5 separate regions of the Homo sapiens genome follow, and all the other regions are linked to region 3. The links are contacts of gene promoters, found by promoter capture Hi-C in blood cells and fetal thymus (Javierre and others, 2016). All regions are on one chromosome and are shown on one strand. The core of a region is centred on a gene start or on the middle of the fragment in contact, and the rest is flanking DNA. Distances in the headings are between cores, read along the strand shown.

The links. Contacts are between HindIII fragments. The CHiCAGO score rates a contact against its expected background, and 5 or more counts as called.
Region 1: a fragment that was not itself captured here is called in contact with the fragment with the promoter of TMTC2 in region 3 in 4 of 17 cell types (endothelial precursors, naive B cells, total B cells and 1 more); the score reaches 12.3 in endothelial precursors.
Region 2: a fragment that was not itself captured here is called in contact with the fragment with the promoter of TMTC2 in region 3 in 1 of 17 cell types (naive B cells); the score reaches 6.6 in naive B cells.
Region 4: a contact is called between a fragment that was not itself captured here and the fragment with the promoter of TMTC2 in region 3, in 1 of 17 cell types (endothelial precursors). The highest score is 5.5, in endothelial precursors.
Region 5: a contact is called between a fragment that was not itself captured here and the fragment with the promoter of TMTC2 in region 3, in 2 of 17 cell types (endothelial precursors and erythroblasts). The highest score is 22.6, in endothelial precursors.

Annotation. Positions count from the first base shown.
Region 1 is chr12:84,499,741-84,504,168 of GRCh38, forward strand. All of the region lies in intron 1 of LOC105369875 (a long non-coding RNA gene), which reads right to left. Among named protein-coding and RNA genes, the nearest start is that of SLC6A15, 410 kb to the right of the region's middle. The HindIII fragment of the contact is 7,736 bases long and covers 1-4,428 here.
Region 2 is chr12:84,483,741-84,488,282 of GRCh38, forward strand. No RefSeq gene overlaps it. Among named protein-coding and RNA genes, the nearest start is that of SLC6A15, 430 kb to the right of the region's middle. The HindIII fragment of the contact is 4,313 bases long and covers 1-3,760 here.
Region 3 is chr12:82,685,109-82,689,547 of GRCh38, forward strand. It overlaps TMTC2 (transmembrane O-mannosyltransferase targeting cadherins 2), which reads left to right and starts at 1,798. Exons shown (of 12, transcript NM_152588.3): 1 at 1,798-2,561. The coding sequence starts at 2,479. RefSeq lists silencers at 749-828, 1,679-1,778, 2,349-2,398, 2,759-2,818 and enhancers at 1,259-1,408, 1,429-1,638. The HindIII fragment of the contact is 3,615 bases long and covers 1-2,621 here.
Region 4 is chr12:84,465,465-84,469,466 of GRCh38, forward strand. No RefSeq gene overlaps it. Among named protein-coding and RNA genes, the nearest start is that of SLC6A15, 450 kb to the right of the region's middle. The HindIII fragment of the contact is 247 bases long and covers 1,592-1,838 here.
Region 5 is chr12:84,396,526-84,400,869 of GRCh38, forward strand. No RefSeq gene overlaps it. Among named protein-coding and RNA genes, the nearest start is that of SLC6A15, 510 kb to the right of the region's middle. The HindIII fragment of the contact is 2,489 bases long and covers 319-2,807 here.

The sequences.
Region 1 (4,428 bases), core at 819-3,318, 1.8 Mb after region 3:
TAGAAAGCCCACGAAAATTTTAAAAGAAATGTAAAAAATGTTTACAAGATTTACGTTTCTTTTAAAAAACGAAATGTAAATCATGCTTTGACTGAGATGGTTCAAGATGAGAAAAGTTATCTTGGTCTTCAACTTTCTATAGGCACGAAGAAGAATAGAAAAAAGTGGTTCATCCACCAAAAGGCATATTTTACAATTCTCTAGGAATGGCCAAAGAAAACTATGAAAAGAGAAATACGTTCCTGAGGGCAGATCAAAGAACCTCGGAGAATAATGGAATGGTGAATTAGACCCAGGAAGCAGAATCAGCATGTAAAATGCATTTTATACCTCACAGATACCAAGACATAGCATCGTTTGTCCAACAGGATTTCACAAAGTTTATGAATAATGGATAAGCGACTAATACATATCTCAAATGTACTAAATTTGAGTTGTTATTGAGAATATACTTACCCTTTCCTACCATTGCATGTTGGGAGAATGTTTCCTCTTAAATTCATAAATCATTGAATCATGAAGAACTCATCTAAACTTGTTATAGATTGTAGGATCTTAAACTTCAGGCCTGCTGATGTGATTAGATTAGGTGTCCTGAGATGACTGTGTTTTACTAAGTTTTTAAATATTATGATTATGACCAGGAGAATACACTGCTTTCAAAGGAATTATTGGTGAACATTCTCTATTCCTCCTTGTGTCTGTGTGCTTTGATAGATAATTTTGTAGTTTTTCTCATTAAAAAAAAAAGGGTTAAGTGCACTTCTGTTGGCTTTGGTCAATGATGAGGATGGAAGTGACAGTGTGCTAGTTCTGCACATAACCTTATGTGGCCTCAAATGATTACTGCTTGGTCATCTGTGCTTTGCTAACACTCTTTTAAAAGCATGGTTAAGCTGACCCACAGATCCATGAGAATAAATAAGTTTTGCTTTGAACCATTCAGTTTTGGGGTGTTTTTTATATAGCATTGTCATGGTACTAGCTAACCGATACAAATATAACCTTACAAATGAATCAAAGGATGAGACATTTACATTATAATTTTTATAACATACACTTAAGTTGTTTTTCAAGATGACTTTATCAATTTATTCTCCTCTTAGCATTACTGAGAAAATCATGTATCTCACATTCTTACATGCTGACAGTGTCGTATTTTTATTTTCATGTCAATCAAATGAATGATTAGTTAGCTCCTGTTCAAATTGAGTATTCAGATTTCTAGTGATTTTCAGCACCTTCTGTGAATTCAGTTCTCATATTTCCACATTTTAAAATAATTTGCCTTTTTGTTAACGTGTGGGAGTTTTGCTGTAATTATTTTTACATAATCAAATTGCTATTACTTTATTGAGCAGTGCAAATTCTATATGCTTTTCTGAGAATGCAGATTTTGTCATCAAGTGGTAAAATAATTGCTTTATGCAGAAGTATATAACTTTAGTGTAGGCAAGTTTATAGTTTATTATTTTAGATTTTGGGTCTTTTAAGAAAATTTTCGTGTACCATAATGTCTAAAAGTATTTTTATATTTTCTTTCAAGCTATTTTTTTTTTTTGTAATTTTGCCTTAGAAATGCACATATTTACTATGGGTTGAATTTCATCCCTCCAAAATTATATGTTGGGATTCTAACGCCTATTCTCTCAGAATTTGACCTAATTTGAAAAGTGTTATAAATGAAATTAGTTAAGTTAAAATGAGGTCATTCTGGAGTAGGGTAAGGTCTTAGTCCAATATCACTAGTATCCTTAATAAAAAAAAAAAAAGGGGGGGGCGGAATTTGAAAACAGAGACAGAGATGGACAGGGAGAATGCCATGTATGATACAGCTGGGAGTCCAGGACAGCTAAGGATTAATGGTCACCCAGTGGACCCAGAAGACAAAGCATGGGGCCACAGAGGATGAGTCTCAGGCCTTGAAATCTGACAGAATTTGCTCTGTTGGTGTTTGAACTTGTTCAGGGACTGTAATGTCTTTATTTCTTCTAATTTCTTCCTTTTGGAATGTGGATATTTATTATATGCTTGTCTCCCTATTTAACGTAGAAGGTGATAACTTGTCTGGTGTTACAGGTTTACAGGTAAAGGGAGATTTTTGCTCCAGGATGAATCATACATCAAGTCTCACCCACACTGGTTTAAATGATTTAGATGATGAGACTTTGGACTTTGAACTGATGATATTTAGATAAGACTTTAGACTTAGAGTTAATGCAGGATCTTGGAGATACTGGGATTGATGGATATATTTTGCACAGGGGAAGGACACAAATTTTGGAGAGTCGGGAGGTAGACTTATTATTGGTGGGTGAGTCGGCAACTATCCAGAGAACTCCAGAGTGACACCTCTGCAGGAATCTCAGTCCCTTGTCTTGGACCTCAGCTTCACTTCACTTAAGTATAGTGTATCTGGATGGCAACCTCTGGTACTTTAATAGCTATGGGAGTAGATAATAGAACAGTGAAGGGGACCTTCCAGACCTTCCAGTTAGTTGGGATTTCAGGGTTCCATCCTTCCAACCTTTCATGAGAACTAGTGAGCCTGGAGGGTATAAAGTCTGAGCTTTTTCCTCTTTCAATTTTGGGTTTATTTGTAACCAGTATTCCCGGAGGCCTGTTGGAAGCCTGCCATAGAACAGACATACTGGGTGACTTTGGTAGTTTCTTCATCTAGCAATAAGTCAGAATATAGGAATGGTCTATCATATAAGGCCTACTAGGGGCTTAATTGTAAAGAAGCCTTAGGGGCAACATGGATTCAAAGGAGGGCTAGAGGTCAGAGGTCCACCCATGACTTGCTGTTTCCTGACACAGTTTATTGAGGATGTGTTTGAGGGCTTGGTTATTTCCTTCCACCTTTCCTGAAGATTGTGGTCTCCAGGCAGACTAAAGGTATCATTTCATGCCAAGGGCATTACTAACCTGTTGAGTCATTTGGGGAATTAAGGATGGGCCATTGTCATTTTGCAATGACCTAGGAAGCCAAATCGGGGAATAAGTTCCTTGAGGAGGAATTCAGCTACTTAACTGTGCCTTCTCAGTCTTTGTGCAACAGGTCTCTACCCATCATGTGAAATTATCTACACAGTTTAAGAGGTAATTATATCTATGGCATGTGGGGATCTGAGTGAAATCCATCTTCCCATCTCCAGGGTATTTACCTCTTCTTTGGATCGGACTTATTAATGGAGGAGGCTTCCCTCTCTGGGGATTATTTATGGCACACAAGGAGCAAGCCTGACAAGCCTTCTCAATAGCCTTGTTCAGTCCCCTCCTGCTAAACACCCACTTACAAATTTTCCCTAGACTGTCCTTTCCAAAGTAGCAGGAGTCATGCAGACTCTGGATGACCTTCCACTGGGAGGCCTTTGGCAGATGGAAAAGTGCCCCCAGGCTGTACCATCCATTGGTTTCTTTTTGATATCCCTGTTGGGTGGTCCAAATCTATTTCTTCCTGGGTGTACTGGAGTGGGGGTAGTTCAGTGGGGAGAGAAGGGAGCAAGGCTCCCAGAAATGTAAACTTTGGAACAGTTGCTTCTTTAGTTTTCTGGTCAGCCAAACTATTTTCTTGTGCGGTTTCATCGTGGCCCTCTGGTGTCCCTTGTAGTGCACTACTGCCACCTTCTGGGGCAAATGAACAGACTCTAGCAGCTCTAAGATTTGAGGCCTGTACTTAATAGGAATATTCCCTTTCCTTCCAGATAGCTGCCTGGGTGGGAAGGATCAAAGAAGCATGTTTGGAGTCTGTATAAATGGTTATTCTTTTTCATTCCCCTAGTTTTAGGGCTCTGGTTAGCATAGTGAGTTAAGCTCTAGTTAACTGAGGTCCCTGGGGATAAAGCTCTAGCTTCGGTCACTTGGTAGAGGTACACCAAAGCATTATCCTGCATGTCTAGTTCCATTCCAGACAAAACTGCTTCCATCTGAAAATCATATTTTGATGGGATTTCCCAAGGGTTGGTCCTTTAAGTCAGCCCTGCTGGCATAAATTTGGCTGAGTACTTCACAGCATGAATGTGCCAGGTTATTGTCTCTTGGTAGGGGCAAGAGGGTGGCTGGGTTGAGGGTCTAGCACCACTCAACTGTTACCTGCAGGTTTTTTAATAACAAAACCTGGTACTTCAACAATCTGCTGTCAGTGAGCCACTGTGGCCCTTTTTTGTCCAGTAAGGGGCCAACTTGGTGGAACATTAGGAGCTGGGTTGACTGCCCCATGGTGATTTCAAAGGCCTCCCCAAGTAGGAGGACTGCTGCAGCCACTTCCTTGAGACTGTGTGACCACCCCTGTGCAAACACCCCTGTGCAACTTGGTCTAGGTACTTTGAAAAATTACCTTATGGACATTTGATTGGCCCAATGGTTTGAGTTAGACCTCCTAGGGCTACACCTTGCCTTTCAGTGATAAACAGTTGAAATGGTTTG
Region 2 (4,542 bases), core at 354-2,853, 1.8 Mb after region 3:
GTGTGTCTGTGAGGGTGCTAGCAAAGGAGATTAACATTTGAGTTAGTGGAATGGGAGAAGCAGACCCCACCTCAATCTGGGTAGGCACTATCTAATCAGCTGCCAGTGTGACTAGAATAAAGCAGGCAAGGAGTTGGAAAGACGAGACTTACTGAGTCTTCCAGCCTTCATATATCTCCCATGCTGGATGCTTCCTGCCCTTGAACATCAGACTCCAAGTTCTTCAGCTTTTGGACTCTTGGACTTACACCAGCGATTTGCTAGGGGATTTCAGGCCTTTGGCCACAGACAGAAGGCTGGACTGTCAGCTTCTCTATTTTTGAGGTTTTGGGACTCAGACTGGCTTCCTTGCTCCTCAGCTTGCAGACTGCCTATTGTGGGACTTCACTTTGTGATCATGTGAGTCAGTACTCCTTAATAAACTCCGCTTCATATATACAGCTATGCTATTAGTCCTGTCCTTCTAGAGAACCCTGACTAACACACCCAGCAAATATTCTAATGTGTAAATTCATTTGGTGTGTTCGGCATCACAAATGAGGCCAGTGGGAAGTACTCAATGGGGTACAATATATGGAGATGAGCTAAAGAGACTGGCATGTGTTATACAATATAGGGCTTTAGATCATGCTATGAAATTTGTTCTTTCTTTTAATATCACTGGGAAGAAATTGGAAATGTTATGCAATACATAATTTTTTTTAATTTTTAGAAAAATGTACTGAATACCTGCTCTGTGCTAGTTCATATCTTTTAGTGCTGGGATGCGATGGAGAATAAAAAATATTTTCTACTTGTCTTTTATAATACATTCTCAGAAAAAAATAGGCAATAAATAAATAACCAAGCAATTTTGAAATAAAATATTAGGTAATAATAAATCTCATGCAAAGAAATGACAAATGATTATAAGCAAATAAATGACTTTTAGAACAGTGATCTTGGATAAGTCCACCTTAGTTGAGAGTGTAGCAAGAAAAGAAAAGAGATGAGAATAGAAGAAAGGAAATCTCAACAAGATCCTCTCAATTGAGAGGAAAGAAGAAAGCCCAATTTGAATAGTTTGAGAACAGTATAAAGTGGTGAAAAGCGTAGGTCTAAGTTTATGGATAACGTTGTGAAAACTTTTCCTGGGGATGGAAAAAATATGTGGTAGCTTGAGTTGGACAGGCATGTGGAATCCAAGGCATTTTTCTTATGGTTCTATTATGTACTTTGTTCACTGATGAAAGATGTTCTTAATGGTGGAAAATATGGTGACATGGCAAAGAACAGAAATAATTTTAGAGGCCAAATTCTAAATTATGGTTAAGAGAGTGTGTGCCAAGGTAGAAATTGAGGAACTAGCAATCAACAGAAAGAGGGTAACTTCACTGTAACAGAAGAGACACCTCCAATTAAGTAAGAATAGCTTCACAAAATTAACAGATACAAAGTGAGCTCACTTGGTTTCCTTCAATCTCATTCTATTTCCTACCTCAATAAGTTGCTAGAATTAACTAATTGTCCAAGACAGAAAAACAAATGACAATCTTGAAATCCCTTTCCCTAATCACTAAAACCTAACAAAACCATCTATATTTTCCCTAAACCCCCCACATTCAGTGAGCCATACTGGTGAGGTGGGGATAGGTTTTTAACAAGGTCTGAGTATCAGCACTTGGGGATGCTTCCTTGTGACAGTGGCTGCTCTTTACACCTGCAGTTTTTATATTCATTAGTGTTCTCTTTACTTCTTACTGGTCAATTGCTCATTACTCCAGTTCCCTCTTTTAGTTAATAATTCTATAAAATAAAATTTCCTCTTCAAACTTCTATGTAAATTCTCTTTCCCAATTTTAATCTGACTATAAATCCATAAACATGAAATTCTAAACCAGAGTTACTAAAGACAGATTCATTTTTCTTTCCACTAGATGTAATATTTATTCTATATTGACCAACATTCTATATTTTCATTGAACTGTGAACTTCTGATTCATATTAATGTGTTGCTTAGTGATCAGAACTTTTAAAATGATAATGCTTATTACCTATGTGGATCTAAGTTTTGTCATGCAGTTTACTTAGTGATTAGAAAAGTCATTCACTTAATAAATGTTGAATGCGCACTTGTCATATTATTGTATTGTTTTAGGTCCTAGAAATAGAGAAGTGAATTAAACAGATAAAGTCTCCAATCTCAATAATTACCTCTGATTTAAAAACATAGAGCCATAAGTTCTACTACTGACGTTTCGGGTGCCACAGCAATTTTGGGGATGTGTATAGGCTGTGAGTTCTTAGGATCATAAACACTCATGTGAAAAATTCATACATTTCTATAAACTGTATTATTTAACATGTCATATTTTCTACACCTACGAAACCTGCACCAGCTAAGTTTATACATACTACCAGTAGAAATAAAAAGCTAACAAATATGGAATTATATGTTACAGTTTCTTTGGGATTTTTAAAATCATATACTAAAGAACATAAAAAAGGGGTTTGGCTCCTTTTCTTTAAGAAGAGAAAGATTACGGTACCTACAGTGATGTTTTTTATTCACGCAAAGTCACATTCAAAATGTGTATTATACTATGATGCAAGTTTGTAAGTTTCACCTATGGCAGATGAGAAATCCTTATGGGCTATATTGCCCATAGCTACTTCTATCCCATTCTGTTTCTTTTTGAAAATTATTATAAAAGAAGGATTATTTCTGCTCAGAACTAATGATCAACTTAAAAATGTTTTCATAAAAGTTCCCTATTTTTGTGGAAGTTACTAAAACCTTGATCTTTACACCACTATATTATAAAGATAATTGCTTGTGATTAATCTGCCTGATAGGATTGAAGAGATAACAGTTATATGATTAAAATATGTTTAATTAAAAATATATAAATTATAATCAAATAACATGCAAATTTTTGCACTTTATGTTCATGTTTTATTATGTTATTTTATATTATTCTTTTTAAATGTGAATGAATATTGGCATTCAGTTTTGCAATCGCAAATGTGACATTTTAAAGAAATATATGGTCAGTCAGGCTCAAAGATCAGCTTCCAGTCCTTTACACCAAGTTTCTCCTTCTTAAATTTTTTGTTAAAATCAACATTTTCTCTTACTATGATATTTTGCATCTTACTCTTAGAGGCCATCTTCTTATATTATTTAGAAGATGCTAAACCACTGTCTAACAATTTTTTCCCTGTAATAAAGTATTGTCAAAATTTTCATACAAAACTATCCAACAAGCCACTATTTGTTCCTCTTTCTAAATCAGATAACATAATTTTATCAACATCTAAGCAAAGAAATAGTATCTACTACTACATATTTATATTATAAAACTCATTTCCCTTCACATCTTATTTTGTTAGCCACATTTGAATTTTTGGTAGCATCATTGTCTCAAACATCCAGGATTGAATCATTTCATCTACAATTTCTCTCTTTTTCTTATTTTCCACATGTGCTAAATTTTATATTCCACTTTAATCACACACTTTCCATCACCACACCATCATTACAAATCCTTACATAATTTATGCACAGTCATTATGTCCTGGGTACCCAGCACTGTTGGAGCTGGGGATGCCTTTTGAACCTATAGCCTAGTAAAGCAGTCTTTTTGAGTCTCTGGATATTTTTCTGCTTATTTTCTATGATGTTTTATTATAAGTCTGTTAAGTTTCCTTTACTTATTATTACTAGTTTTTATCCAGGAGAAACCTCATCTGTTCATTTGCTGAAGAGAAGAGTTAATTAAGCTTTTTTAGCTTGCTAGTTTGATTTTGGGTAATTCATTGTGCACTTAGGTGGGGGTGAAGTCCATCTCCAAACTACATGTGAAAAGCAGTGTAATATGCAGCTTCTCAGTTCAACTGCCAACTATGATTATTCTCCTGTCCCCATTGCCTGGGTCTCAAGCACTGAAAGGTAGCAAATGAGAGTTCATATAATTTTGACCACACACTGTCCAGACTTTTCGGCCTCTTACTTGTCTAAAGAACTTTATTGTTAAATTTTACACCTTTCAGGAAGCAATATGGTATCACCAAACACTTGATATTTCCTGCCACATTAATTGGTAGAAGTTGCATTTTTTGAAAAGATGTCAAGTAATGTTGGAGAGACAAGATTAAGTAACAGTCACCTAGAACAGATGTTTACTTTAAAAAGGTAGCAGCAGGAGAGAGAAGAAAGATGATTCCCAAGTTTTCTGTTTGGCACAAACTCTGATTTTTCTGAATCAAGAGGAGAGAGTGGAAAACAAACAAACAACAACAAAAACCACTCATGGCACCATGTCTCATGAGGTGATGAGACAGTCTGTCACTGATGGTGTTTATAACTGTAATTTATATTAATTGATACTTAACACAATTTCTATTAGTTTTCTGTTGATCTTAGATATTGCACTTTAAATAAATTTCAGGTGTTCATGTTCTGGGAATATTTAGATGAAAGTAGAAAGAAATTGACTCCATTTTAATCCAGGAAGTTACCCCCTTCCTTTTTTTATTTTTAACAGTGTAAATATTGAAAAG
Region 3 (4,439 bases), core at 548-3,047:
ACTAGCTAATACTTCTGTAGCACTTTCCTGGTCCCTTTTAGATATTTTACATAGGTTAACTACTTTAATACTCATAATAACAGTACTCATAAGATAAGTACTATTATTATCACTGTTTCATAGATTAGAAAACAGAGTCACAAAGAGGTTGAACGACTGGCCAAAGATCGCCCAAATAGTAATAGCAGAGTATGCACTCAAACTTAAACATCTGATCCCACAGTATGTGTTCTTCCTTCAGTGTTCTAGGACACCATATACATATTTTATATATACTATATATATCTCAGCATGTAAGTGCATTGGAGAGACACAGAGCATCAGGATGGACTAACTGATATGATTTTCAAAATTTTCAAGTGAGCAAAGGTTATGGAGGAAAAGGGTAAAAGATCAGTCCCTACCTGTAAAGACATAATTCCTTTTATTTTTGTTTACATATATTTGTCCAGGGCACAAAAAATGTGCTACTGTGGATGGCATAACAGGTATAATATTAATAAATATTCATCATTTTATCTGTGTGTATCCAATACAGATTTCTCAGATTTCCTTGTGAAATCAGGGAAATATGTAGCTTTGTTCTACAGAAGCCCAGACCACGGTATTTTCTTTCCAGGCCACTGCTAGACACCCAGGGGGCTCAATTTCTTGCCACAGTTTCGGAGAGCTTGCTGGTTAGGTGCTGCTCTTGGTTGGAACCAGTCGGCCCGCATGCAAAACAGACCTGTCTTCCACACCTTGTGGTTACTATGCAGCAGGGGGCGCTGCAGTAGTGTACATCGCGGTGCACCGGAGCTACTCTCCTGGCCAGAAAGCCAACAAGCCGGGAGGAGGCGTGTCAGGCAGCCCTGGGTCCTCTTTGGTCTTGCAACTTTAGTACCCAGAGCTTGTTCTACACAGACCATTCTACACCATATTTCACCATGTTGGATGCTTTCCATCCAGTCCTGCCTCCGAGCGGAAAGGAAAGGGCATTAGCTTACTGCCTTACTAGGTTTAAGTATAATGCTGTACCGGCTTGCACTAGAGGTTTCTCTCCTGTGTTCTCAGGGTCAACCCGACAGTCCCTCTGAAACCACGAAGGGGTCCCCGGGCAGTTGCTGCGGGGTGTGTGTGTGTCTTTCTTTCCCTTTTTGGGGTCCTTTCTTTTTAACCTTACTGAAGGAGGAAACGTTTCTCTCCCTACACGTCTTTCCACTGACATTGTGGCCAACCGTAGGCTAAGAGCTGAAATCTCTCCTTCCTAAGTTGCCTCCAAGCTCTCCAATACTACCTCCTCCCCCCCATTTAGTCTCACACACAGTGTGCGTGAGAGATCGCCAGTGAGTTTGTGACAACCGAAGCTGCAGCAGTCGCCAAACCTGTTCTTCCTCTCCCGGTCTCAGAAGTCTCTCCAGCTGACCGGACTTACGCCTGGCAGCTCTTGGCACACACAGCGCTGTGGCTGAGATTCAGCCGTGCCAGGCGCTGCCAGGCAGCAGCGGGGCGACCGACCACCTCCTCCTCGACCTCCTTTCTCCCAGCTTCCCCTCCCAGGGTGCACTGTATCTACTCCTTTGGGCTGTCTTCCAGCCGTCGCCCTTGGGTCCCGGGGGCTTTCCAGAGTGAAATCGAAGGTGAAAGAAACAAGAGGACGGGAGGCTGGTAGGAGGAGCCTCCAGGCCGGGGAGGGTGGGAGGAGCCTCCAGCCCGAGGGGCAGGGTAGGAGGAGCCTTCCGGGAGGATCTGGGTGGAGAAAGGGGCTGGGCCAAGCCGGGATGGAGGGTTGGTCACGCAGGCGCGGGGGGCCGCGTCGAGAACCCCACGCGGGAGCTTCTGGAGTCTCCAGCCACCGCTTCTCACTTCACTGGAGAAGGGAGCTGGGGCTGGGGCTGGGGCTGGGGCTGGGAGGGAGCTAATAAACATTGAATGTGCAGCAGCTGCCTTGGCGGCCGGAGTCCGCCCGAGCGACACCGGAGCAGTGCGCCCGGGAGGCGGCGAGGGGAGGCGGTTCGCCTTGTCCCTCCCACCCGCGCCTCTTTCTCTCTCTTCCTCCAGCTGGTCCCAGAGCCCGGCTTGGTCCGGTCCCTCTGCCCCCATCCCGCACCCTTCCACCTCCTCCGAGTCCCACTCCTCACCTAGGACGCCCCAAACTGCCATGGGTTAGGGTGGGGATCGCGACCCGCGCGAAAGACCAGCCCTGCGCTTCCGCCGGGGGACGCGGAGCCCAAACGCCGCTCACCGCTTGCGGGCGCCGGGCATGGGGAGTGTGGTGTGAGCCCGCACCCGGGGAGGACGCAGGAGCTGCGGAGACGGGCGCGAGGAGGAGGAGAGGAGTCGTGGATTGGAAGGACCCGAGGGAGGGAGGGTGGGGAAGCGAGGGAAAAGTGAAGCTGGGAGGAGAAGGCGGCGGAAGGTGGAGATTGATGCTTCTGTTTTTTGTTGCCGCTGCTGCCCTCGCGCTGGGAGCCGAGCCGGAGGGAAGGCGGTGGAGAGATGATTGCAGAGTTGGTGAGCAGCGCTCTGGGGCTCGCCTTGTATCTCAACACCCTGAGTGCGGATTTCTGCTATGATGACAGGTAAGGGGCCGAGAGGAGGGGGCGACGGGCTGCAGGGGGCACACTCCGCAGTGGCTCTGAAGCTTCCCTCTTTAAGGCTCAAAGTGCGTCTTGGAGGAACTGGTTCAGCACCTGATGGTTTAGGCGACACGTAAACATTAACACCTAAATCAAACACCGGGGACGTGAGGCGCGCTGGGCGGGCCGAGGGAGTTTCCGCTCCTAGTTTGCAGCAGGTTCTCTCCCTTGCTTCTCGGCTGTTGGCAGACGCTTGAGTTTCTTAGCGGAAATCCCGGCAATTTGGGAAACTGTTTAATGAACGTATTAAATTAAAGTCTTAGGTATTCCTTGATGCAACAAAGCACATTAAGTGATTTTACGTCTGGTTGGGAGGAAGCCTCTCCTCGATCCCTGATAGATCCTCCCTGTCCCGTTTCCTTTTATTGATGGGACACTTTTATTTCCCGAAGTTAAAACACACGTTTGATAGTTGCCAAAATTGTGAAAAGGGAGATCGTTCTCTGCTTTAACTTTCCCTTTTAACGTGTATAGACTTTTACTTTGAGCCAAAATAATGCTGCTGATGGTCTCTCCCGCCGCCCTAGCCTCCTTCACCAATCCATTGGGCAGCACTTTATAAAAGCCTCGGCTTTCTCATTTCTGTTTGGGAGTTGTACATTAGATGTTAGTGGTTCTTTTGTACTAATTGGAGAAGAAGACGCCCCTAGAGACTGAAGTTGTCTTCTGCACTTAGGTTAGTTTGGGTGGCTAATGAGACCTGAACTGTGTTGTCAAAGAAACTGCATCGATTTCTGGAAAATGTCACCGTTGTGTTGGTGTCTCTTCCTATCTTTTAAACGTTATTAGTGTTCAGAAAGTGATGAAAAGCCCCTATATCCATTAGGGAAAATTCCAATTTGTGTCCTTCCGGTGTCTTAATCTGATTACAATTAAAACAGATGCATAATTAAAATATATTAGGGATAACAGCACGCCTGGCTAAACTTATTAACCGTCCTGGGGTGTTTCATGCTCCATTGAAATTAAACCATCCAAAAAGTGAGCACAGATTTACTTTGACAGCTTTTCAGCAGCCTCTCTGAGCTATGAAAAGTGAATGGATCCCCAGGGTTAGGGCGAGGCAGTGAGAGCACTTACGCAAAGTGGTTGACAGTGAGGGGAGGTGAAGGCAGAATCTTCTTCTCGTCGTAATTAGCCACATTCTGTATTCTCTGGTGTGCCCATTCTCCTGCTAAAAGCATCTTCACATCTCTGTTAAAAAATCACCTGATAATAGGTGCCAGAACATCCAGCAAACCCGTCTTAATGCATTTTATGTAGTGCCTACCAGAGGCTAGTTGATAGGGAACCACTGTTAGACATACATTTTTTCTTAACTTTTACGCAGCATACTGATTTTAGCAACTACACAGCATGCTCTGAGAAATGGTCTGTAGGAGTGAGGTAAATTTCTGTTCTCTCCAATTTTGTGTAATGGTGCACCTGCTATTTCTAGCATATTCGTGGAAAAAGCCCTTGTTTCCAAAGATGGGTGACTTTTCACTAAAACCAGCTTGGGTCAGTGTGGGCAGTTACTGGCTCTGTTGGGGGCGGTTTGAATAGTAAGCATTTAAACCAAGAATATAGAGTTTATTTAAAAAAAGAAACTTACTATAATAATGCAACTTGATGGGTGACTTTTCACTAAAACCACCTTGGGTCAGTGTGGGCAGTTACTGGCTCTTGGGGGCAGTTTGAATAGTAAGCATTTAAACCAAGAATATAGAGTTTATTTAAAAAAAGAAACTTATTATAATAATGCAACTTGTTATAGAACACGGTGGTGAATCAAGTATTCCTATTGTATGCCCTTGTTCATTGCTGTCTAATCCTTAAGAA
Region 4 (4,002 bases), core at 465-2,964, 1.8 Mb after region 3:
CTGAAGCAAGGAGACTATGTCTATTAATAACTTACTTAATCTTGATACCATTCTTTTCTGTGTTATTCCCAAGATAATGCTACATTCTGATCCCAACATCTCACAGAAGTTTGTCTAAAAACAGTTGCATCATTTTTAACTTATTGCACCTGTCTTTCTCTTCCCAGAATTCAGATATGAGTTCATTGGACTGAGCTAAGGGCAACTTTTAATGAGAAACAACAAACTTTTTCCTTCTTAAGAAAGGAAGCTGACCATTGAGGGAGTTTATTCAGAATTCCTTCCTTCTGTCTACTAAGGCAATATTTTACTAGGCATGTGCAGTTGGTTTCTTATTTAATGCCAATTTCACTATCCCATCTCTTCCCATAAGATGTTTCTACATTCTTCATACAAACAAAGTTTTGGTAGCTCACCGTGATCTTCCAGACGTGCAATATAGATTCAAGATGTAACTGTCTGCTGCACATTAATCCTTGTAATTACTGTAGCACCAACCATATTCCTAAACTTAATATACAGATAATTAAATCAAGCTTTGTTTATTAAATAAAATGTCTTTAAAGAATAAAGCAATTATTTATTCTGAATTATGAGTCATTAATAATAGTAACTAACATTGAGTCATTATTGTATGTTATTTATTTATTTATTAGGTGAAGTCTCTCTCCCTCATCCAGGTTGGAGTGCAGTGGCACGATCTCAGCTCACTGAAACCTCCACCTTCTGGGTTCAAGCGATTCTCCTGCCTCAGCCTCCCGAGTATCTGGGATTAGAATCGCCCACCACCACGTCTGCTAATTTTTGTACTTTTAGTAGAGACAGGGTTTCACCAGGTTGGTCAGGCTGGTCTTGAACTCCTAACGTCAGGTAATCCAACCACCTCGGCCTCCCACAGTGCTGGGATTAGAGGTATGAGCCACTGCGCCCAGCCTATTGTATGTTAAAATTCTATATCTGATACTCTCAATATGTGCTACACACCATACTAAGGCCCTTGGGGGAATAATGGTGACCAGAACATTCTCTAAGTAGAATAGAGATCACAGTTTAGTGGAATAAATAATGCTAAACAAAGGAACAAAACAAAAGTAAATATTGGCAGATTTTAAAAATGTATCTGAAGGAATAATAGTTTAATGAGAGAGAATAAAAAAACTGAGCATGAGTGGTCAGGAAAATATAATTTGTGAACCAAAACTAACGGGAATAAAAATGGTCATGAGAAGATCTAGAGGAAAAACATCACAAGTGGGGTCAAAAGGCAAGTAGATTTTGATGAAGGTAAGAGCATGATAGGTTTTTTAATATGACAGAGGGCTGACGTGAACAGAGCAAAGTAAGAAAGTAGAAGTGGGAAGGGCCAGTTAGGCAGGGTCTCATAGGATCTGCCAAGAGGTTTGAATTTTATTATAATGGTAGTAGAAAGACAATATTTTTTTTTAAGGAGGCATAGGTTAGTATTTTAATCTTTGCATTTTCTAAAGTATATTTGACAATCCATCATTCATGATGTTATGCATATTTAAAATAATTAGCTTTGCTCATAAAATTTAAAGTAGGTACACATCGTCCTACTTACATTTGCAAAAGCTTTTGTGACTTGCAATTATACCAATTTCCAAATGAGCCTATGCCACTATTCTTTATGAACATTTCAAATAATAGCTCATTATGAATGCTCATCAACAAATAGGAAGTTTCAAATAAGAATATTCCATCATACTTATTTTTAAATTTATTTGTGTGAAGTCTATGGATGTCTTCTATAAAATAGGCCCTGAATTTTTAGAGAAATGAAGTCCACAGCTTTCTGAGCAGCATTCTTTTATAAGGAAAGCTTTTCTTTTGTTCTTCTCTTACTTTTTAGTTGTTATTTTAATTTAGCAAAAGTATGGACTTGCATATTTTTTCTATTTTGAAATCAATATATTAGATTTAGATTTCATTTTAGTCATTATTCATTTTGATAATCATATTTGTCCAGTTGAGCTGTTTAATCTGACTCCAATGTTGTCTTTTTGACAGATCTCCACTAGTAGGGAGAATTTTCTCACTTTCTTGGACAATAAAATATTCCAGTTAACTTTCAAATTTCACTGTCCCAGACCTGAAACCAGTCATTTCTACTACAAGCACTATTAGTTTAAGTAGGTAGTAGTATCTAGATTTGCCTCAAATATTGCTCATTGCTGATAAGGTGTCTGTTTTCATGCCTTTTTATAATGACTTCACTTCAATGCCTTTAAGTCCAAATCAAATCATAATTCAATATCACTCTTCCTCTCTTTTTCCCACTCCACATTTTTATCTTTTCACCAGAATATGAGCAATTGTTCACAAGAATGTTAATGTTTATTTACTTCTTACTGTAATAAACAAATTTAGCTTAATGTTTTGATGTATAAGATAATAAAATGGTTCTAAATTCAAAATCATTGGAAAAATATATTCAAAAAAAGTGTATCCACATATTTAACACTTCCAATTCACCTCTTGTATTTTTATTAGTTTCCAAAGCCTATTGTTTTTGTATAAACAACTACTTTAAAATATAGTTTCATTTTCATTTTTAATAAAAAGCATATCATATAAGCTGTCTTACCCTATTTTTTAACTTAATAGTATAGCCTGAAAAGCTCTTTATATCAGTTCACAAATATTTTTCTTAATTCTTTATAGCTGCATAATGTTCCAATGCATAAATGTAACTATTTTTCCAGTCAATAACCTATGTATCTTTCCAGATGATTTTCAGGATATTTATAGGAAAATTGCTCCTATAAATAAATGTGTGCCTATGTTTTTATTGTGGTTATTTTCCTTAGTGTATGTTTATTTTTAGGATAAAATTCCTAGAAGCAAAATTGCTAGACCAATGACTAAAAGCAAATGTAGTTTCATAAAATTTTTCCAAAATTCCTCCATAAGGATTGTACCATTGTTCACGCTCACCAGAAATCTATGAAAGTTTGTCTTTTACTTTTCCAGTCTTGTTAGCAAAATGTGTGGTCAGGCTTTTGAAACTTGACTATCTAAAAGGTGAAAAACACATACTGTAATTTTAATTTACATTTATCTTACTATAAGTGAGGTTGAGCAACTTTACATTTATTTTAGGATCAACCGTGGCCATCTATGTTTTTGGCTTATTTTTCTAATACATTTTGGGTCTTCAATCCTCAATTACTTTAATGGTGTTTATTTTGATAGAGAGCTATAGTTTATATGTAAAGAAATGTTAAGATCTTACTTGTACAGTTTCAAGAGACTTGAGGAATATATACTCAGTTATTGCCACCACAGTCAAAGTAAAGAACACTTTCAGCATCCCAGAAAGTTCCCTCCTGACTCTTTCTAGTTAATGGCAATGTCTGCTCCCCAAGGCAAACTATATTTTGACTTTAAATAGCATATGTAACATATGTATTTTTTTGAATTTTATATAAATAGAATCATACTCTGTAACTCTTTTGGTTGGGCTCAGCATTATACCTGTGAGATTAATCAGTGTTCCTCCCTAAAACTTCAATCCCTGACCCTCATGCCTTGGGGCAACAAGTGTGTCAGTAGCTTATTCCTTATATGGCTGAGTGGTATTCCATGAGCAGTTTATCCCTTCTGCTGTTACTTGTTTCCAAATTTGGGGTACTCTAAATTAAGCTACTATTTAACATTCTCATACAGGTCTTTATTGAACATATGCTTTTATTTCTCTTTGATAAATATTTAGGAAAGCCATATAAGAAATTTTTATGTTGGCATGATGTGGAAAAAAGGAAATTCATACACTGTTGATGGGAAAGTAAGTTAGTAAAACCTCTGTGGAAAAGAGTATGGAGATTTCTCAAAGAGCTAAAAATGGAACTATTGTTCAATCTAGCAATCTCACTACTGGGAATCTGCCCAAAAGAAAATAAAATGTATTGTTAAAAATACGCCTGGATTCATATGTTTATTACAGCACTATTCAAAATGCAAATATATGGAAACAAGTGACCA
Region 5 (4,344 bases), core at 313-2,812, 1.7 Mb after region 3:
TAAAACATTTTTGTATATACCTTGTGGCATTTCTAAAACCACTTCCCCAATACACTAGCTGATTTCAATTCAGCTCTTTTTACATGAAATTCTTGCCAGCAAATGTAGCTGGCACTTGATTTGTCCTTCTCTTTTCAATTCCCGCCTCCCTCAGAGATGCAGAAATGAAATTTCAAGTCACAGAAGTGTACTTCCACAGCTTTCATTATTTTTTGAAAGGCCATATTTCACAAATATAGATTCCTACTTTTCTATCCACTTTATATTTAGTCTGTCTTCCAAAGGTTCTCTCCTCTCTTTTTCTAGTAATTTCCAACAAGCTTCACATTCATTACCCACATTGAGAGAGCATTACACAACTAATTTTTCTATGAAAATCCTAAACCAAAATTCAATTATATAAGGAACAAGAAATTATTTCAATTGGATGTCTGATTAAAATGACTCCTCAGGTGACTCAAAAGTTTAATATTATGGTTTTTAGCAGACAGAGTCTGAATGTCTAACAATTTTAAGTAGAAATGAGAAAAAAAATTCCTGGATCAGATTAGCCTCAAGTTAAACATGCCAAATTTCATTAATAAATGTTCTCAACATTTTGCTATCTAAGCTATTTTCATTGTTTTTTTTTTCCTTTTTCAGATAATATTCATTAAAAACAGGTGGGATTTTGAAATATAAAGCCTATGAGAATTTAAATGTATCTCGGGAGAATAAGGATATAACATTATAAGAATGTTCCCTAAACTGCGTTCTTCAGTATTGTATACATATTCCAGCAAATTTATAGATTTTCAATAAAAGTTTTGATAAGTCCTAATTTTAACAAAAGCCTTCAATTATTGCTATCTAACATAAAGGTAGAAAATGTAGTTGAGATTATTTGAAAGAAATTATGAACAGGTGCTTTATAACACAATTTTATTAAGTGTTTAATCAATGCATTATTAAAACATTATAGTTTATAATGCCACCTAGTGGATTTCTGAATAAAAAATGCCCCTTGAGTATAACTAACATATAATATGAAACATATGCATAAAGAATGGTAATCCAATTTTCCTATATATTTACATATCTTTCTCTCTCTTTTTCTTTCTCTAATATTCACCCTGAAATATTAAGTATTTACCTTGAGCTATAAAGCATTAAACATTTAAAAGTATTAAATCAAAACAGAAAGAAAATAAAATGTATTTCTTAGAAGTTTCTTTTTTAAGTTTATCATAAGTATAAAATGTTTGAATTGGATTTCAGAAGCAACATGTAAATACTTGGGACACTTAATTATAAATAATTCATGTAAAAAGATTAAAATAATGAAATGGCAGTATATATATTTATAGTACAATATAAGTCATTATAAGTTAAAGCTGTAATTTTTAACTCCATGTGAAATTGCCTTGGTAAGTATAAAATTGTGATTTGCAAACCTGGCTGTGTATCAAAAATCTTCTGATTAAAAGTTTCCAGAGATGAGGTCCAAGAATGTGTATCTCTTCAAAGCTCTGTAAGTTATTATGATACACAATAATGGCTGATAATGCTGCTGTAAATCATTATCTAGACACAGAGACTAGTTTCCAGATTGTCCAAAACTGGACAAACAAAACCTACTACAGAATATTGTCTTAGTGTGGTTTATTTTGTGGTTAGATATATATTTAGCATGACAATATTCACTAGTTCTGCTTTTATGACCATTTTAAATACTATTGTACTCTAACATGTTTTTGTCCATTCTCCTTCCCTTTCTTTGCAATTTTGCTGGATCACCTAATTAATTTCAGTCGTTTCTGGTACTCTCTCAATATAAATATCTTCAAAATGTATATAACAACTCATTTCTCCGTCTTACCTCCCAAACTGGTATATGAAATTGCCTTCTAACCATCCTCAGATATTCAGAGTCCTCAAATGTAAAGTACTCCTATTCCATCTCTAACCCCAATAAAAAGTATCAAAATTTCTGCCTTCCCTATTTTAGGGAACATAACCAGCATCCACAAAAATTAAACAAGAAACAAAGTCCAAATCTCACACTTTCATTTTCTGACCTCTCGTAACTTAACAGTCCTTAAGTCACCTTAATTATGCTTCTTAAATTTTAAAGCATGTAAGTCTTTCTCACCACATAACTACCTTAGCTCAGACCTTCCACATGTCTCTCTCTGAACTTGGAGTCAATTGTTTCCCTCCAATCTGTCTATTCCCTTTACTTCATAGAGTGATATCAAAGTGATCATACTAAAATATAATATTTTTATTTCAGTAAAGTTTCAGAATACAAAGTCAATGCACAAAAATCAGTACCATTTCTATACACCAATAACATTCAAGCTGAGAACCAAATCCAGAATATAATCCCGTTTACACTGGCCACCAAAAAACAAACAAACAAACAAACGAACAAACAAATGAAAAAACCTAAGCATACAGCATAAATCATATATGACAAACCAATGGAAAAACATTCCACGTTTATGGCTCAGAAGAATTGATATCATTAACATGGCCATATTGTCCAAAGCATCCTACAGATTCAGTGCGATTCCTATCAAACTAACAATGTAATTTTTTGCAGAATTGAAAAAAAAAAGTTCACATGGAACTAAAATTCCAACTAAAATTCACATGGAACAGAAAAACAACTGGAAAGCCAAAGCAATATTAAGCAAAAAGAACAAAGCCAAACCCAAAGGCCAAATTCAAACTACACTATAAGGCTATAGTAACCAAAACAGCATGGTAGTGATACAAAAACTAACACATAGACGAATGGAACACAATACAGAACCCAGAAAAAAAGCTTCAAACCTACAGCCATTCTGATATTCAGCAATGTCAACAAAAATAAGCAATGGAGAAAGGATTCCCTATTAAATAAATGGTGCTTGGATAGCTGGCCAGTGATATATAGAAGAAGGAAACTGGACTCCTACCTTCCACCATATACAAAAAATTAACTCACCATGGATTAAAGATTTAAATGCAAGGCCTCAAACTATTAGAATTCTTGAAGAAAACCTAGGAAACACTATTCTGGACATCGGCCTTGGGAAAGGGTTTATGACTAAGTCCTCAAACGCAATTGAATCAAAAACAAAAATTAACAAGTAAGATCTAATTAAACTAAACAGCTTCTGCACAGCAAAAATAACCATCAATAGAGTAAAGATACAACCTAAAGGATCAGAGAAAATATTCACAATCTATGCATCACACAGAGGTCTAATATTCAGAACCTATAAAGAACTTAGAGTATCCAACAAATAACGAACAAATAATCTCATTAAAAACTGTGCCAGGCCAGGCGCAGTGATGCATACCTGTAATCCCAGCCCTTTGGGAGGCCAAGACAGGTGGATCACGAGGTCAGGAGTTCAAGACCAGCCTAGCCAAGATGCTGAAACCCTGTCTCTACTAAAAATACAAAAATCAGCCCAGCGTGGTGGCTCGTGCCTGTAATCCCAGCTACTCAGGAGGCTGAAGCAGGAGAATCTCTTGAACCCGGGCAGCAGAGGTTGCTGTGAGCTGAGATTGCACCATTGCACTCCAGCCTAGGTGACAGAGCAACACTCTGTAAAAAAAAACAAAAAACAAAAAACCTGGCCCAAACACATCAAACATATGAACAGATACTTCTCAAAAGAACACATAAAAGGAGGCAACAAACCTGAAAAAATGTTCTACATCACTAATCATCAGAAAAATACAAATCAAAAGAGCAATAAGATACCACCTGACACCAGTCTAAATTGCTATTATTAAAAGGTGAAAAAAACACAGATGCTGGTGAGGCTGCAGAGAAAAGGGAATGCTAATACTGTGTTGGTGGGAATGTAAATTTGTTCAGCCACTTTGGAAAACAATGTGGAGATTTCTCAAAGAAACTAAAACAAAACTACCATTCAACCCAGAAATCTCATCCCTAGGTATATAGTCAAAAGAAAATAAATCATTCTACCAAAAAGATGCAGTTGTATGTTCATCATGGCACTTTTCAAAATAGCAAGGACATGGAATTAGCCTAGGTACCCATCAACAGTTTATTGGATAAAGAAACAGTGGTACATATATACCATGGAATACTATGTAGTCATAAAAATATCATGTCCTTTATAGCAACATAAATGGAGCTGGAGGCCATTATTCTAAGCATATTAACAGAGGAACAGAAAACCACATACCACATATTCTCACTTAGAAGTGGGAGCTAAACAATGAGTAATCATGGATCTAAGGATGGCAACAATAAACACTGAGAAGTATTAGAGAGGGGAGGAAGAGACCAAGGGAAGATTGAAAAACTAACTGTTGGTAGTGTGCTCAGGGCCTGGGTGA